Regions from separate parts of the Homo sapiens genome. Here region 2 is linked to region 1. The links are contacts of gene promoters, found by promoter capture Hi-C in human tissues and cell types (Jung and others, 2019). All regions are on one chromosome and are shown on one strand. Each heading gives the region's core, a stretch centred on a gene start or on the middle of the fragment in contact. The rest is flanking DNA. Distances are from core to core; before and after follow the strand shown. Region 1 holds the start of SYNDIG1L (synapse differentiation inducing 1 like). Region 2 overlaps YLPM1 (YLP motif containing 1).

Region 1 (3,485 bases), core at 690-3,189:
CAGCCAATTAATGACAAAGGCGAGACTAGAACCTGGGTCTCCTGGCACCAGGCCAGGGCCCTTGATACAACACCAACAGCCTCTCTTTGAGTTTTCCCTCCAGGCAGCAGCATGTAATTATCAACATTAGTATTTAGAATTTATATGCGGCTTTTGCTTCACTGGCTTTTTTATTATCCTTTCAATTAGTATTTCAGTATGCAGCCCAGGCATGGAGCACAGCCAGGGTGGGGAGGGGAGCAGCAGAGGGAGGCCAAGGCCAAGTAGGTGGCCATGAGCCCCTGTGAGAGGAAGGCCAGAGAAAGCAAAGGTACAGGAGGGTGGCCTGACATCAGAGACAATGTCTTGTGTGTGTGTCTGTGTGTGTCTATGTGTGTCTGTGTTGTGTGTGTGTCTGTATGTCTGTGTTTTGAGGAGGAGGGTGTCTGTGAAGATGAAGTATGGGCCTGAGATGAGTGGTCCAAGACCCTTGCTGGCCTCAGGGGGCTTCTCACTGCATTATCCACTAATGGGGCAGAGACAGGAAGAGCAATAATATATTTAGCACCCAACAAGTTAAACACCAATACCAGCCCTGAGACAGACCCCAGGATAAGGGAGTTCTCTGTCCTGCCTTGAAGGGAAGGAGACCCAAGCCCCATGATGTGGACTTGCTCCTGGCTCCTACTGTGCACTCTAGGAGCTACACCGAACTGTGCCAGATGCCCACATCCTGTGGGAGTGAAGGAGTCCTGGAGTCCACCATGCTATGTGCTATAGCATCCTCAGCTGGATGCTAGGAGACTAGTGGATGCTAGTGGAATCCCACTGCCAGACCCTGGTTCCTTGTGTCTTCCAGCCCCAGCTGCAGCCTGCTCTGTGGTTTACTTTGCAAACCCACACTTACCTTCAGAAAATGAGAATACTCTCTCCTCCTGACCTCCTGGGACTTTGGTGAGACTCAAGACCTTGTGAAGGCGCTCGAAGAATAGGTTCATCCACTGGTAACACTCAAGATAGGGCATCCCCATGCAAAAAAAAAAAAAAAAAAGGAAACGCAGGTGGAGGTGGATAAAGAGCAGCACAGGGTGGAGACAAAGCAGCCAAAAGGCCTGCATTCGGATCTCAGGGCTCTTGCTGGGAAAACTCAGGGGGACGCTCACTCACTGAGTGCCTATTGAGTGCCAATGTGTCACGTATGTCATCTCATTTTGTCCTCATATGACCCCTCACTTTGTCCATGAGGAACCTGAGGCTTTAAGAGGTTAGGTAACTTGCTCGAGGTTATACAGCAAGTGGGACCCTAGGACCAAAACTTAGGTCCATGAGCTTTAAAACCTGTGCCCTTCCCAGCACAGCACTGAATCTCCAAATCACAGGATTTCATCCTTGTGAGCCCAGCGTCCTGGTCTGCAAAATTGGAGGGGGAAGGGGGACAGGGGGAGGGGGGCAGGGGGAGGGGAAGAGGGGAAGAGGGGCACTATATTGCCTAATAGAGTTGTTAAGAAAATTAAATGAGCTTATGTTGATTAAACACATTATCGGGCTTGGTATCTGGTATATAGTAGGTGCTCAATAAATGCTTTCTGTTTGTTTTTCTTTTTAGGGCAGATCAATGTTAAAAACTCAGGGCTGGCTTTGGAGCCTAGGAGCTCCAAAATGCTTCAAGAAGCCCAAGGGCCTCCCATCGCTCTGGGGTGCGCGGGAGGAGGGGAGAGAAGGGCTGGGAAAGAGGGCTCGGCTCCAGGAAGCGGGTACGCGGGTTCCAGCTGCGCGCCCCTCGCTTCGCCGCCTCCTCCGGGCTCCCCCGACTTCCCGCCCCGCCCCGCCCCGGAGCCGGGTCCGGAGTGCCTGGTGGGCTGATTCCGGAGCGTGGAAGGGAGCACGGAGCACGGAAGCGAGAGGGAGGCGGCGGCGGCGGGAGGCGGGAAGGAGGGGGACCCTCCTCGCTGCTCTCCCAAGTCGGCGCGGAGCCGCCTCGGGCCGGGCCGAGGGCTGCGCGGCGGCGGCGGCGGCGGGGCCCGGCCAGGATGCGGGGCTCCCGGGACCGCGCGGGGCGGGGCGGGCGGCGGCGGCGGGCTGCGGGCGGGAGCTGTCCGCGGTGCTGAAGCGGCGGCTGCTCAGGGACGCGGGGACGAGAGCAGGGGAGCCCTCCTGGGAGTTCCACCGCGACCGCGAGGCGGGGGCGCCGTCGCTCACCGGCCCATGCCGAGCCCCCGAGCCCCGCGGAGGAGGCGGGACCGTCCGCGGCGGGACAGGTAAGGGGCGGTCTGGGGGCGCCGCGGGAGCGCAGAGCTAGGCACGGAGCGGGGAGTGAGCTGGGGAGGGCACGGGAGCCCTCTCGGGGCTAGGGGCTCTGACTCCCTGCTTGGCCGCACCTTGCGCTCCGCCAAGGCTTGCACTTCGTCCCTCCCTACCCCTCATCCTGCAGGCTGGGGGTGCTGGGAGGGGGCTGATGAACTGGGGTCAAGACACCATAACCTCACAACATCAGGCCTTGACCCTGACCTCAGGCAGCTCCTAGACATCCTGCCTACTGACGGCAAGAAATACTGATTAGAGCCTCAGACTCCCTGGTACCCCAGTCCCCACCAAGGTTTTGCGACACTAGCAAAATCTGAGCAGGCTTCACTAAGCTCCCCTCTTCTCGCACCCAAACCTGTTCACCCAGGTGACTGAGGTGGCTGTGGTACCCCCTGCTCTGAGATTTCTCTGCCCTGGAAATGGCTCTTGGGCCAAGGGATTGGCTCTTGGGCCAAGGCCCCTTAGGATGGATTAACCCATTTCTTCAGGGAAGGAAGGAGGTCCTGGAAGATACCTCAATTTTTTTTCCTATGACACTCTTGACGCTCACAGAAGCAGGCAGGATTTGCATCACATCTCTTGGCGCATGAGGGCAAAGAGTCAGGGAACCTGGGTCCTGTTTTCTATTATGTGCTGGTGACCCTAGACAGAGCCTCCATTAGGAGTTCTCTCTCTTTCTGGCAAGAGTGCGCTGAATGAGCTCATTCAGGCCTGCAAAGTGCTTCTAGTTCTTCAGAGCAGAGTTCTCTATGACTGGCAGAATGTAGCGATCAAAATAAAACTGCGTGGAGGAAGAATTGGCCTACCCTTGTGGCTGACCACTTCTTTCTACTGCTTTATCCCCACCCTCCAACCCAACACAACTTCCCTACCCCCAGGGGTAGAAAGAGCACTAGAGTAGGAGTTCCTGGCTGGGTGCTGGCATTTACTGGCTTTAGCTAGTTCCCTAAGCTCTTTCAACCTCATCCTCCTCACCCCTGGAGTGGGGATAAGGTCACCGCTCTGCTCACCTCAGGGAACTGCCTTGGGGCCCAATGAAAAACAATGCACCTGATTGGAGGCTTGCCACCTGTACATCTCCATACCAGTGTGCGCTGCTGTCACTGTTCCCAACCCCTAGCCAGGCCTGCTGTCAGTGACCTGATTATTGTCACCCCTACCCCCTCTTCTCCCAGCATGGCCATGTCTCCCTTTGTCCTTGG
Region 2 (3,485 bases), core at 636-3,135, 370 kb before region 1:
TTTCTTCTCTCCATCTATCATCCCGATATCTATCCAAAGGTGGAAGAGGTGGGAGGGGCGGTAAAGGTGGAAGAGATGGAATATCCCGTTCACGAAACTGTGATTCTTGTTCATCCAGTGGTCTCCCATAATCTCTGTCCCACTCATTATCCAAACTTCTATCATACATATCCATAGGTCTTGAAATCCGATCCACATCCCTGTCCATGTCCCTTTCCATTTCCCTATTGTAGTCCTCATCCATATCCTGGTCTCTCTCCCAATCATCCCACCAAGGGCCTCGCCTATCTCCATCATGAGACCGAGATGGTGGTGCTGAGAACCTGTCCTCTCTGTTATAGAGCTCTAGTGTATCATCTTGATAGTCACGTTCACATTCTCTCCAGTATCTCTCTCTATCCCAGTCATCGAGTCTTTCTCGTTCCATTGGAGCATTTCTACCATCTAATGGAAACTCTTCATGCCCTCGCTCTTCTCCATGGTTCCATGGAGCCCTAGGAGGCTCATCCCGGTGATATGGATACATTTTTTCCCCACCATCTCCTGGTTCTGGTCTGAATGGACCTCTATCACGACCAAAATCTGATCTTCCCAGTCCCCTTTCTCGACTGCCAGGCCCTCGAGGTGGTCCTCTCTCCCTGCTCCCAGCTCTTCGGGGTGGTATTCTCTCTCTACTCCCAGCCCTTCGAAGAGGTCCCCTCTCCTGACTGCCAGCCCTCCGAGGTGGTCCCCTTTCTCGGCTGCCAGCTGCACCCCTGTCCTGGCTCCCTTGAAGACCACCTGGCACTTTCTCCCGACTGCTTCCAGGCCTCACCAACCCTCTGTCCCGGCTACCTTCTCCTCTGTTCATCTTCTCTCGACTATCTTCTCTTCTACCCATCATCTTATCCCGAAAGTCTTCTTGCTTGACCAATCCTGGGCCTCGACTGATTGCCTGGCCGCGACCTCTGTTTACTAGACCTTTATCCCGTGTGTCTTCCATTCTGCTTTGCCCAGGACCTCTGTAAGATGAGCTGTTGCCTCTATTGCCTTCTAATCTATTATCTCTATTATCTGGCCGAGGCAGGCCTTTATCTTGGTTGTTTTCTGAATGGGGTAGACCAATACCCACAGGTTTAAAATCATTATCTGCTGTTAATGATGATGTTGCTACTGCTGTTCCTCCCTCCATCCCCCCTGTTTTTGAAGGAAAAGTAGATTGAGCAGGTACAGGCTTATTCGCAAGGGGTACAGGCTGAGTAACAGCTTGGGCTTTGTCGATTTGAGTCTCCATACTTTGAACATTCTGGTCCCAATTAGAGGGCTCTACGGGCCCTTCCGAGACTTCACTTTTAGGTGGCTCTTGTTGAGAGTCGCTTAGATTCTCATTTGACTGAGCCGCCTTGACATCCTTTACATCTGCAGCAATGGAAAATGCAGCTGATTGCATTTTAAAATTCTTCTGCTGGTTACTACTGGTGTCTGCTAATGGTTCTTTGTTTCCTGAAAGAGGTTCTGCTTGTGACTTAGGTTGCTGCTGATGCTGCTGTCCAAAAGCTGGTTTGGGGCCTTTCCACTGTGGTCCACTCTGTCGAGGACTTAGGGATGTACTGGGGGTAATATAAAATTGAGATGCTGGCCCCCGGGGAATCATTCCCCACTTGCTTTTAGTGCCCTCTGCTGGGTGACCTTCATATCTGGGTCTTGGCCCATCGGGGCGATTTCCTTCAAAACGAGGCCCTTTGGGTCTCGGTCCTTCACACCTTGACCCTAAATCCTCAAATCTTCGAGGACCATCAAATCTACAAGTAAAACAAAAGATATTACTCAAGACAGTAAAGCAGAAAAAAAAAATTCTCCATGTAAGAATATTTAAGGCACTCTTGCCTTAGAATTTGTTTACAACAATGACTCTTTTCAGTCATTAAATTAATCCTGAGTCACCAATATCTTAGAACCAGTATGTTAAGGTGGCAGTGCTCAGAAGGTCTTAGGACAGGCTTTGGAAATCATGTCAGTATTATCTAACTTACTTCAACACATCTCCTGCCGCAAGTCACTGATATACTGAACGGTTAAAAAGCAATTACAGGCCTGGCGCAGTGGCTCACACTTGTAATCACAGCACTTTGGGAGGCAGAGATGGGCAGATCACCTGAGATCAAGAGTTCAAGACCAGCCTGGCCAACATGGTGAAACCCTATCTCTACTAAAAAAAAAAAAAAAAAAAAAATACAAAAATTTAGCCAGGTGTGGTGGCAGGTGCCTGCAAATCCCAGCTGCTTGGGAGGCTGAGGCAGGAGAATCACTTGAACCTGGGAGGCAGAGGTTGCAGTGAGCTGAGATCACGCTATTGCACTCTAGACTGGGTGACAAGAGTGAGACTCCGTCTCAAAAAAAAAAAAAAAAAAAAGCAATTATAAATACTGTGCCTTAGGAGACAGAAAAGGCTGCTCATTTTAAAGAGAAAAAAATTAACAAATTCCATAACTAACTCTGAGCACTTCTGGAATTAAATTGTAACTAAAAACTAAATATGAAAAGACTAACAAGAAAATATAGGATGATTATAAATATTGTTAGAGCTAGCACTAACATTTTGATTGACAAAAGTTAAAAAAAAAAAAAAAAGAAACAGTAGCCCTATCTTAAGAGTAGGTTCTGACATTTTAAAAAGTCTGCACAGTTATTTTTGCTATAAACCCACTTGCTCATCCAGTAAAAAGAAAGTACACATCCTTTATCTGTCAGGCATTACATTACATCCAAGAGATACAAGAATAAAATGTCATATGTGCCCTCAAAGAGTTTACAACAAAATATAAAGATAATCTAAGTGTAAATAAGTACCAAGAGATGTAATGTCTCAAGTCTATGTGTACACAATAAGGAAAACAGAATTGGAGAGGCTTATGTTGAGTTTTAAAAGACAACTTCTCTGAAATCAAGCTGACAGAATGAGTTGGAGATGAGGAAAGTATGTGGCAAGGGCACCTCAAGCTAAGGAAGCAAGAGGAAAGGCGGAGAAACGTGTATCAGCAGAGCATGTTTGGAAGTGCAAATAGTTTAGCATGGCTAATGCAAAGGGGAAACAGAGTCAAGAGAGCTGATAAAGAGGGAAATGTGGAAAAGCAGCACACTAAAAAATAAGGTAAAGAAGTAAGCGAGGATCACTCTCCAGAAGATTGTGTATGCCTCATGTGGCAGAGACTACTGGTGGTCTTCCAATACCCATTCCCCACTTATCTACAATAACAGGCCTCCTGTAGCTAGACACAAGGCCCCCCAGACAAGACTCTCTTTCTCAATATCTCTTGCAGCTAGAACTGGCAGCCAAGTTCTGGCCAAGGAGCTGAGAGTGAAAATGATTTGCACATCTTCTGGGTTGTCCCCTTAAAGGAAAGGGCACATCCTCCTCTTCTCCATTTCCTTTTTCATGCTGGTTCTGACATGGTGGTGAAATATCCAAGACCAGGTAAATCAGAAGGAACTGGATTCCTGAACCA

Evidence for each region. The method cuts DNA at HindIII sites, captures the fragments that hold promoters and counts their contacts. A contact is called where the count stands out against the background at its distance.
Region 2: a fragment that was not itself captured here is called in contact with the fragment with the promoter of SYNDIG1L in region 1 in 1 of the 25 tissues and cell types used here (mesenchymal stem cells).

What each region holds. Positions count from the first base shown.
Region 1 is chr14:74,424,664-74,428,148 of GRCh38, reverse strand. It overlaps SYNDIG1L (synapse differentiation inducing 1 like), which reads left to right and starts at 1,939. Exons shown (of 4, transcript NM_001105579.2): 1 at 1,939-2,237. The HindIII fragment of the contact is 14,133 bases long and covers 1-3,485 here.
Region 2 is chr14:74,795,876-74,799,360 of GRCh38, reverse strand. It overlaps YLPM1 (YLP motif containing 1), which reads right to left. Exons shown (of 21, transcript NM_019589.3): 5 at 1-1,781. Among named protein-coding and RNA genes, the nearest start is that of YLPM1, 34 kb to the right of the region's middle. The HindIII fragment of the contact is 5,826 bases long and covers 1-3,485 here.